3 separate regions of the Homo sapiens genome follow, and all the other regions are linked to region 2. The links are contacts of gene promoters, found by promoter capture Hi-C in human tissues and cell types (Jung and others, 2019). All regions are on one chromosome and are shown on one strand. Each heading gives the region's core, a stretch centred on a gene start or on the middle of the fragment in contact. The rest is flanking DNA. Distances are from core to core; before and after follow the strand shown. Region 1 overlaps SLC71A1 (solute carrier family 71 member 1). Region 2 holds the start of FRRS1 (ferric chelate reductase 1). Region 3 overlaps LRRC39 (leucine rich repeat containing 39).

Region 1 (3,665 bases), core at 324-2,823, 320 kb after region 2:
CACTAAGACTACTTTTAAATAAAAGAATGTTTGTGGGCTATACACAAAACTGGCAGTGCAAGCTTCTGCTAAGAATGAATGTAATTTTGGGCTAAAACAAAGGTCTCTTTTTCTTGGTAACCTGTGTTTTTCTCACTTCCAGTCACTTGAAATTATAATTACCTTCTTGAAACAAAGAAATGGTAATTTATTTTGCTACTGTAGTAAATACTGTATGCTACCTGATTTTATTTTGTTTTTTGTTGTTTCTGAGACAGTCTTACTCTGTCACACAGGCTGGAATGCAGTGGCACAATCTTGGCTCTCTGCAACCTCTATCTCCCAAGTTCAAGCGATTCTTTTAACATCAGCCTCCCGGGTAGCTGGGATTACAGGCATATGCCACCATGACCGGCTAATTTTTTTTGTATTTTTAGTAGAGACGAGGTTTCACCATGTTGGCCAGGCTGGTCTCGAACTCCTGACCTCAAGTGATCTGCCTGCCTCAGCCTCCCAAAGTGCTGGGATTACAGGCTTGAGCCAACACGTGCAGCCTGATTTTATTTTTGAGATCTTTCTATAAACGTTTTCCCCTTGGACTAACAAATTAATCATAGAATAGCTGTGTTCACATTTTGTGCTGAAAGTAATGATGTAATATTTTCGCATAGGCTGTTTTGCCAGTTGTTATTCCCAGAATTTTATAGAGAATGTGATAGTATCTCTTTTCTCCTAAAAAGGGAATGCCTTTTATAATTATGGCTTTAATAAAGAGAAGAGCAATTAGCTTGTAATTCATAAGTTAATACTAAAAGGTATGTAGTTTCTCCTTATGAGTAAAAGTATTTGTGTAAAAATCCTAATTACTTTATTCTTCCTCAGAATTCCATCATCCCTGGCCCTCCCTTCCTATTTGGAGCCTGTTCAGTACTGCTGGCTCTGCTTGTTGCCTTGTTTATTCCGGAACATACCAATTTAAGCTTAAGGTCCAGCAGTTGGAGAAAGCACTGTGGCAGTCACAGCCATCCTCATAATACACAAGCGCCAGGAGAGGCCAAAGAACCTTTACTCCAGGACACAAATGTGTGACGACTGAAATCAGGAAGATTTTTCTATCAGCACCCAGGTCTTAGTTTTCACCTCTAGTTCTGGATGTACATTCCATTTCCATCCACAGTGTACTTTAAGATTGTCTTAAGAAATGTATCTGCATGAACTCCGTGGGAACTAAAGGAAGTGGGAACTTAGAACCAGACAGTTTTCCAAAGATGTTACAATTTCTTTTGAAAAACCTTTTGTTTATTAGCACCAATTTCTTGCCACTAAGCTATTTGTTTTATTATACATCCTTTAATTAAAAACTATATATGTAACTTCTTAGATATTAGCAAATGTCTCTGCTACCATTTCCTTAAGGTGTTGAGCTTTAACTCTATGCTGACTCAGTGAGACACAGTAGGTAGTATGGTTGTGGACCTATTTGTTTTAACATTGTAAAATTTTGAGTCAGATTTTAATATTGTAAAATCTTGGGTCAAATAATTCAAAGCCTTAATGCAGATGCACTAAAACAAAGAAATGGTAAATGAATTGTTTGCATTTAAAAAAAAAAACTCTTAAGAAAACTGTACTAAATCTGAATCATGTTTTGAGCTTGTTTGCAGTACTTTTAAACATTATTCACTACTGTTTTTGAAGTGAGAAAGTATCAGCCATTTAGCATTTAAGTTGGGGTATTTAGAGCCTGTAATCTAAATGCTGGCTCAAATTTATTCCCCAGCTACTTCTTATACCACTATTCTTTTAATGTTTGCATAATCATAAGCACCTCAACACTTGAATACATAATCTAAAAATTATATAGTAAAGCTGGTAGCCTTGAAAATGTCAGTGTGATATCTATTATGTAGATAAATATATATAGTGGCCTTTCAGGACTGTCACAGTAACACTTTATTTACAGAGCTAATGTTTGTCCTAAATTTTCAGGACCCTAGAGGAGAGCTTTATACAATTACCGATGTGAATTTCTCTAAAGTGTATATTTTTGTGTCCAGTTATATTATTTAAAAAAGTGTTACTTTGTAAAAATTGTATATAAAGAACTGTATAGTTTACACTGTTTTCATCTTGTGTGTGGTTATTGCTTAATGCTTTTTAAACTTGGAACACTCACTATGGTTAAATAAGGTCTTAAAAGAAATGTAAATATTCTGTTAATAAAGTTAAATATTTTAATGATTTTTTTTTTAAAAAAGTCTTGATCTGTGAGTTCCTACAGGGTCTGTTTTGGCTTTGTTACCATATTTTTACAGTAACAAATCAAAGCATTATTCATTCTTTCTTTGCATCCATTTCTTTTCCCTCACTAAAAAATGCTCTTCAAGGAAGACAAGAGGAAAGAAACAAAAATGCAGTATGCGTTTTGAAGTACTTGATTTTCAAAGTGTAGATGCTGCATAATAGTTTATTAACAAAGCTCAAAGTTTACAGAAATAACATTAAATGCAACACTTTTTGATTATTAACACATGTACAATTTTACACTGCAAAACAATTGCAACTAAAAGTTTAGGAGGTAAAGAATTAGCACACTTGGAAGTCTGTATACATTTAATACAAATTTGCAAGATATCAGAATGATCTCTCCTGAAAATTCAACTTTCCTTGTGTATATATATGCAAAGAGATACCTATATTTTAAAAAAGAGAGCTACCTGTATGTCATGCATCCCATCCAAAACATGTCACAATATTTTATATATATTACATAGTATTTACAACAAAGCCCCTTCCATAGTATTTACAATAAAGCTCCTTCCAAAATCACCAAGAGGCTTCTTTCCAGAATAGCAAGTGCTTTCAAGTTACTGTACCAAGTATTCTCACTAATACAGTAGTGTATCTAAATGGGGGAGGTGGGGGAGTATCAACTGCCTAATATTAGTTACTGAATTTTCAGATTAGATCCCTAGTTTAAAGACACTTGCAATTGCCAATAGTTTCAAGATACTGGCTTCGTAAAAAAAAAAAAAAAATTAGCAAAGATTCTTTCTTACCATGGGACTCAGTAATGTTATTACATCAATATCTTGAAATGTTTCTTCATCTGTGTAATAAAGTAGTTGAAAATAATTTTAAATTATCACATGAGCATTAGTACTTTATAAAAATTGATCTAGAAGACTCTTTAGAGAATGCTACCAGGTATTGTTTGTCAATAAGAAAACAAAATGAGGCCCTATGATTCTAGGTGAATTTTAAAAAAATTTTTCCCCAAGGAACAATTCTTAAAACTTTCAGTTACAGGGAAGAGAAGAAAATTGTACCTTCTAACAGTTATTTGTTTTGCCTAGTTTATTAACATTGAAATCAACCCAAGTTCTGATACTATAAAAATAAATGAATATTCATGATATAGTAGATTTAGTAGTAGTACCAAGTTTTAAAAGTCCACTGATACAGATTTAACTGCATAATAAAACTACAAATTGAGAAAAACTAGATGAGTATAAACATTTAGGAAGCACTGAAGTTTTAAAAACTTGTCAGCTCAAATGACAAAAGCACTTAATCTGGTCACATAAAAACTGTCCAAATTATTTTAAGTATATCAAATTTATTTGATTCATCACTAGCAAATTTAAATGCTTCAAGGAAAATACGCTATGAAGGCTTAATTCATT
Region 2 (3,830 bases), core at 342-2,841:
CAAAACAGTACTCATACAGTGTGATTGTTATGTGAATTTTGAGAAAATCCAATATTAAAAAAGCTGACAGGTGTGAAACAGAGAGTACACTTCACCAAAAAAATCAACATACTGGCTAACTAAATGACGAACTAAAACTCACTTCTCCAACCTAACAAAACCATCTCTTAAAAGGTCTTTGTTTTCAATAAGCTGATAGATCAAATTAAGCCCCCAACTTCAGTTCTATCCCAGTATAATACTCAAATCTTACCACTTTTTTAAAAATACAGAAGTGGCTGGGCGCGGTGGCTCACGCCTGTAATCCCAGCACTTTGGGAGGCCGAGGCAGGCAGATGACCTGACGCTGGGAGTTCGAAACCAGACTGACCAACATGGAGAAACCCCGTTTCTACTAAAAATACAAAATTAGCCGGGTGTGGTGGTGCCTGCCTGTAATCCCAGCTACTCAGGAGGCTGAGGCAGGAGAATTGCTTGAACCCGGGAGGCAGAGGTTGCAGTGAGCCGAAATCCCGCCGTTGCACTCCAGCCTGGGCCACAAGAGCAACACTCCGTCTCGAAAATAATAAATAAATAGGCCAGACGCGGTGGCTCAAGCCTGTAATCCCAGCACTTTGGGAGGCGGAGGCGGGCATATCACGAGGTCAGGAGATAGAGACCATCCTTGCCAACACAGTGAAACCCCGTCTCTACTAAAAATACAAAAAATTAGCCGGGCGTGGTGGCGGGCGCCTGTAATCCCAGCAGTATACTCAGGAGGCTGAAGCAGAAGAATCGCTTGAACCCGGGAGGCGGAGCTTGCAGTGAGCCGAGATCGCGCCACTGCACTCCAGCCTGGCGGACAGAGCGAGACTCCGTCTCAAAAATAAATGAATAAATAAATAAATAAAAATAAAAAATAAAAATACAGAAGCAAATGAAAATATCTGAACTGAAAAGTTTAGCTATGTTAAGAAATATTCCTAATAACACATTTACAATTTGAAAAATCCCCTTTACCCTTTAGGGCAGTATGACAAGCACACACAAAAATAAGTGCAGTGATAACACCTTGCCACCCTGGAGTCTTTCTGAAATTTTAACGACACACCAGGGCTAGGGAGTGGGAGGGTAAGGGGACTAAAAGTTCTAGATAAAAAGCCACTTTAAAAACCAAATAAGGTTCTAAGTGACCCTGATATAGGTAACCATGCCACTAGCTTTAAATATAAAAAAAGAGTTCCTACAGTTTTAAATTTAAAATTAAAAACAAAAAAAAAACTCCTGCAAGAATAAAGTCAATGATTTTCAGGATCCCAAACACGTCTCTACTTATAACCACCCATATCTTGGAATTAAAGCTTGTTAGTCAAAGTCACAGGACATATTAACCTAACTCGTTAGTGAACACTCATTAGCTCAATTCAAGCTCCAGAACATAGTTTCGGAATACAGCACCCGTTCTGCCTGGCCGACTGCCCTGGTCAGCACAGGCACTCGCTCTCCAGTCTGTCGCTAAGCTGGATTTGATTTTTAACGCTTTACAAAGAGCTTTGACATTAAGGAAAAAGACGTGACACTTACCTTGAGAAGCGAAGGCAGCCTAACCAACTTCCGGTTTTGTTACAACTTGTATCACATTTCAGCAGCTGGGTGGAGCCAGTTAAGCCTTGAGCCAAAAGGGAACCTTTCCCAAACTAAGCTGCAGAACTTGATTTGCAAGACCAGTGCTAGTTTTAGGACTCCATTTCTGAAAACTTAGAATTCTGTTTTACACTAAGGAACAGTGTTTGCCAACTAGTACCTACTTCGCCACAAAAATTATAGTTTTTGTGTTTAATTGCAAAACTATTTGAAAATACCTGTTCTATAATAGTGCTAAGTAAAAGCAAATTAACTTTTAAAAAGTGGAAAAAGATCAGATTGCATAGAACCGAAACCTTTCTGCAGTGTGAATGATATAATGCAAAAGAAATCTTTTATTTTGCAAATTACCCCTGAAATTTAGGAGTTTTGTTTCTTTTTAAGCCTTTAATCTGTTTCACAAGACTCTTTTGCAAAAGAAAAATTTTAGGGCTAGGAAAAGACAATGTAATTGAATTTTTAACAATCTTTGTTTTTATTTTGTTTTTTGTTTTCCTGTTTTTTACTTTTTTTCTTCTCTTTAATGTAATTGAAAATATTAAACATTCCATTTCAGACCTTGAGTGACATTGTAATTGCCCAGTGGGTTCACCTTGCCCGCTGTCTAGACAGAGCCGATTTATCAAGACAGGGGAATCGCAATGGAGAAAGAGTAATTCACGCAGAGCTGGCTGTGCAGGAGACCGGAGTTTTTTGTTTTGTTTGTTTGTTTGTTTTGTTTTGTTTTGTTTTGAGACGGAGTCTCTGTCTGTGGCCCAGGCTGGAGTGCGGTGGCATGATCTCGGCTCACTGCAGCCTCCCCGTCCTAGGTTCAAGCGATTCTCCTGCCTCAGCCTCCCCAGTAGCTGGGACTACAGGCGCCCGCCACCACGCCCGGCTAATTTTTGTATTTTAGCAGAGACAGGGTTTCACCATGTTGGCCAGGCTAGTTTGGAACTCCTGACCTCAAGTGATTCCACCTGCCTCAGCCTCCCAAAGTGCTGAGATTACAGGCATAAGCCACCGCGCCCAGCCCGGAGTTCTATTATTACTCAACACAGTCTCCCCAGGATTCGGAGATCAGAATTTTTAAAGATAATTTGGCGGGTAGGGGCTTGGGAAGTGGGAGTGCTAATTGGTCAGATTGGAGATGGAATCATGGGGGGTCGACGTGAGGTTTTCTTGCTGTCTTCTGTTCCTGGGTGGGATGGCAGAACTGGGTGAGCCCAATTACCGGTCTGTGTGGCATCAGCTGATCCACCGAGTCCAGGCTCTGCAAAATATCTCAAGCACTGATCTTAGGTTTTACAATAGTGATGTTATCCCCAGGAGCAATTTGGGGAGGTTCAGACTCTTGGAGCCAGAGGCTGCATGACCCCTAAACCATAATTTCTAATCTTGTAGCTAATTTGTTGGTCCTGCAAAGGCAGACTGGTCCCCAGGCAAGAAGGGGGTCTATTCAGGAAAGGGCTACTACCAATTTTGTTTCAGAGTCAAAACATGAACTGGATTCCTTCCCAAAGTTAGTTTGGCATATGCCCAGGAATGAACAAGGACAGCTTAAAGATTAGAAGCAAGACAGAGCCAGTTAGGTCTGTTCTCATTCACTGCCATAATTTCCTCAGTTATAAAAGGCTTTGCAAAAAGCCTTTTTGCAAAGGCGCTTTCAACATATGCAGACTGGAAAATAGATTATGACCCATGCCTTGACCTGTGAATGCTGGTTATCAATCAACCCCAGTAAATTCTTTAAACCATTTTTAAAGAGAGAACAGAGAAAGGAACACCATCACGTTACGCTTTCTCTTAAAGAACTAGTCACAATTAACAAAAGCCCCTCTCTACAGGTTATTAAAGAGAGGCTTTAAATAAAGATGACCCAGAGTTGGTTTGCTATCCTAAAGCTGCTGGGAACATGAATAGTTTTAAACTAAGTCAGCTGATCTTCAGTTCTTCAAAGCCTCAAGTGGTGAAATAGCCTTCTGCAGATAACAGACCCTTTCCAGGAACTGTCCCCATTGCATGCCAAAAGTATGATATGTCTATAAAACAAAAACTCTTCGACTATATTATCAGAACCCTACATTCTAAAGCACTCTTAGGAAGTGGTACGACACAGTGGGAAGAACTGAATGGAGAGAGAGGCTAGCTTTGTCTAAAACAACCCTTTCACTAGGCTCAGTGGCTCACATCTGTAATCCCAACACTTTGGGAGGCCGAGGGGGGTG
Region 3 (3,699 bases), core at 1,088-3,587, 400 kb after region 2:
CAAATGCCCTATTTTTAAATTTTTTAAAAGTATCATAACTCTATAGATTTTATTAATAACTTTTTTGAGGTCTGATACACATACTATAAAAATTACTTTTTTAAGTACACAATTCAGTAAATTTTGGTATATTCACAGATTTGTGCAACTATCATCACTATCTAATACCAAAGCATTTTATCACTCATAAAGGAAACTCCATACCCATGAGCAGTCACTCTCCATTCTTCCCTCTCATACCTCTTGGTAATCACTAATCTACTTTTTGTATATGGATTTTCCTATCCTGGACACTTTATTTAAATGTGATCATACAATATATAGCCTTTGTGTCTGCTTATTTCACTTAGCATCGTTTTTTTCAAAGTTCATCCATGCTGTAGCATGTATTAGTACTTCATTTCTTTTTGTGGCAGAATGATTCCACTGTATGGATCTACCACATTTTGTTTACCAATTCATCAACTGATGGACATTGGGTTAATTCCACTATTGGCTATTTGGAATAATGCTGCTATGAATATTGATGTACAAATTTTTGTGTGACCATGTTTTCATTTTTCTTGGGTATATTCATAGGAGTAGAATTGTTGAGTTATATGGTAACTTTATGTTTAACATTTTTCTTTTTTGAGACAAAGTCTCGCTCTGTCATCCAGGCAGGAGTGCAGTGGCACCATCACGGCTCACTGCAGCTTCAACCTCCCAGGCACAGGTGATCTTCCCACTTCAGCCTCCTGAGTAGCTGGGACTACAGGCATGCTCCACCACGCCCAGCTAATTTTTGTATTGTTTGTGGAGACAGGGTTTTGCCATGTTGCCCAGGCTGGTCTCAAACCCCTAAACTCAAGCAACCCGCCTGCCTTGGCCACCCAAAGTGCTGGGATTACAGGCGTGAACCACTGTGCCTGGCTATGTTTAACATTTTCAGAAACTGCCATGCTGTTTCCAAAATGGTTGCACCATTTTACATTCCCACCAGTGGCATATCAAGGTTCTGATTTATTCACATCCTCACCAATATTTGCTATTGTCCCTCTTTTTTATTATAGCCATCTAGTGGGTGCGAATGGTATCCGATTGTGGGTTTGATTTGCGTTTTCCTGGTGAGTAATCTATAGATATTTAATAGACTTTGTAATGGCTTGCAAAGAATACAGTTCAACTTCAGAATTCAATTTCATCTTACTACATGTTAATTTTATCTAGTCTTTACTTTTTACATATAAAAATGTATAAAATCTTTGTCATTTGAAGCACATTCCTGTTGATTTTTGATCTATTGCAAACATAAGAATGATCTCAAACTAGAAAAATGCAAACTAGAAACTGGAAAACCGGCCAGGCACGGTGGCTCACACCTGTAATCCCAGCACTTTTGGAATGCTGAGGCAGGTGGAGTTCGAGACCATCCTGGCCAACATGGTGAAACCCCATCTCTACTAAACATACAAAAATTAGCTGGGTGTGGTGATGCGTGCCTGGAGTCCCAGGTACTAGGAAGGATAAGGCAGGAGAATTGCTTGAACCTGGGATGCAAAGTTGCAGTGAGCCAAGATTGCACCACTTTACTCCAGCCTGGGCGACAGAGCAAGACTCGGTCTCCAGAAAAAAAAAAAGAAAGAAAAGAAACTGGAAAACCTTTTGCAAAAAGCTATTTCTATCCCAGAAAATTCTTCACTCATGAAAAAGAGAGTAAGTTTAGAATTGAAAATTTTGAAAATTTTAGGCTGTTAAAAGGATACATAATAAATATGAGCAGTCCTGAAAGCATGAAGTTTAACTAATTTGAATATTTGTTTGCCAGAAATCTCTTGACATTCTGAGAGTTAATACATAATTTTAGCAGTTTTGTATATTAACTGATCTTCAATAAGGATTTTATTTTAATGAACAGAAAGCCAAAAGTAAACAAAGTGTTGAATTTGCTGTCTTTAAGTATTTGGGTTTGTAAAATACCTCTCTTAGTATCTGTGTATTTTGATCTATCACTTGCCTAAAATTTAATCTGCTAACAGGTGCCCTGTGGCAGTGGGATATGTGTGGCCTTCTGATCTAAACAGCTAAGCTTCCCATAGATGTGGGTAACTAAGAAAAAATGTATAATGTCAGCTATTCAATTATATTACTTATTATAAAAATAGAACTATTCAAACAATGGGCTTAATGGTTATTATTACTAAGACAGAAATGAAATTCAGAGCAAGATTTAGTAACAAGTAAATTAGGAATCTTATCCCTTGACCTTTAACTTAAGGAATTAATCCAGTAACCATTATAGCCAAGTACTAGACATTGGAGATACAAAAAGCTCTGTTGTTACTGAGTTCACGGTCAGGCTATTATTAGAAAAATCTATTTCCATCTCTGTAAAGATCGCTAAATTCTTTCTGGTTCTGTGTTTTTATGATCTAAGTCCAGAATATACGATTTATTAATTTGGTTACCTTGAGCAAGACATCCCCCATCTGTGGGCCTTACCTATAAAATGTGAGGTTATAATTAAATGATATCTATGTATTTTCCAGCTTAAATATTCTATAATTCCTATACAGCTTTTTCTAAAAAAAAAAAAAAAAAAATTGAGAAAGGCTGTCTCCATGTTGCCCAGTCTGGTCTCGAACTCCTAAGCTCAAGCAATCCTCCTGCCTCAGCCTCCCAAAGCACTGGGATTACAGGTGTGAAGCTGCTTATTTTAATCTTGATATTCTTTCAGGTCTCTAATCGAAATTTTATAACTCTTCTAAAACCCTTTTGAGGCCGGGCGTGGTGGCTCACGCTTGTAATCCTAACAATTTGTGAGGCTAAAGCAGATGGATCACTTGAGGTTAGGAGTTTGAGACCAGCCTGGCCAACATGATAAAACCCTGTCTCCACTAAAAATACAAAAATTAGCTGGGTATGGTGTTGTGGGCCTGTAATCCCAGCTACTCAGGAGGCTGAGGCAGGAGAATCACTTGAACCCAGGAGGCAGAGGTTGCAGTGAGCCAAGATTGCGCCAATACACTCCAGCCTGGGTGACAGAGTGAGACTCTGTCTCTAAAAAAACAAAATAAAATTTGATTCTACAAATTTTATTGTAGAATAAGGCCTTTTTCTGATATTGCCACACCAATCGTTACCTAAGTACTTGATTTTTTCAAGGAGCTTGGCATCAAAAGGGAGAAAACACAATTTCTGTTTAAACTGTAGGCTTTTTTTCTTTCATTTTTTAGCTAAAGCTCTAGCCAATTTAGCTGAACGAAGCAGCATTAGATTACATTCTTACCCTTCTTACCCCTTGCCTGTGTACTGACCCCTTTCAAATCTGCTTCTTTTGTCTACTTCCTTGCCACTCAGTGTGATTTGCAGAACAGCAGCATCATTGTCTCCTGGGAGCTTGTTAGAGATCCAGACTCTTGGTCCTACTCCAGACTTACTAACCCAGAAGCTATTTTAAATAAGATCCCTATGGGATTCCTACGCAGACAAGTTTGAGAAACACTGGTCTATTTCAGAGCAGAGTAAAAAAGTAAGGACATTTCTTTGGGTTACCTTTGGTTGGTTTTAAATTTCTATGAATTTTCCAGTTAGCCTTTTCTCTGGTAATCAGCTTCTCTGTCTCACTTTAAAAGGTCTCTCAGATTCTTACCATTTTGCGTCAGTTATGATTGTTTATTTATTAATTTTTTTCTTTTTTTTTTAAATGAGACAGTGTCT

Evidence for each region. The method cuts DNA at HindIII sites, captures the fragments that hold promoters and counts their contacts. A contact is called where the count stands out against the background at its distance.
Region 1: a fragment that was not itself captured here is called in contact with the fragment with the promoter of FRRS1 in region 2 in 2 of the 25 tissues and cell types used here (H1 embryonic stem cells and spleen).
Region 3: a fragment that was not itself captured here is called in contact with the fragment with the promoter of FRRS1 in region 2 in 2 of the 25 tissues and cell types used here (H1 embryonic stem cells and adrenal gland).

Annotation. Positions count from the first base shown.
Region 1 is chr1:100,081,142-100,084,806 of GRCh38, forward strand. It overlaps SLC71A1 (solute carrier family 71 member 1), which reads left to right. Exons shown (of 12, transcript NM_033055.3): 12 at 862-2,236. The coding sequence ends at 1,068. SASS6 (SAS-6 centriolar assembly protein) reads right to left here. Exons shown (of 17, transcript NM_194292.3): 17 at 2,429-3,665. Among named protein-coding and RNA genes, the nearest start is that of SLC71A1, 45 kb to the left of the region's middle. The HindIII fragment of the contact is 4,296 bases long and covers 1-3,665 here.
Region 2 is chr1:99,765,044-99,768,873 of GRCh38, forward strand. It overlaps FRRS1 (ferric chelate reductase 1), which reads right to left and starts at 1,592. Exons shown (of 17, transcript NM_001361041.2): 1 at 1,564-1,592. The HindIII fragment of the contact is 12,687 bases long and covers 604-3,830 here.
Region 3 is chr1:100,161,033-100,164,731 of GRCh38, forward strand. All of the region lies in intron 3 of LRRC39 (leucine rich repeat containing 39), which reads right to left. Among named protein-coding and RNA genes, the nearest start is that of LRRC39, 15 kb to the right of the region's middle. The HindIII fragment of the contact is 7,164 bases long and covers 1-3,699 here.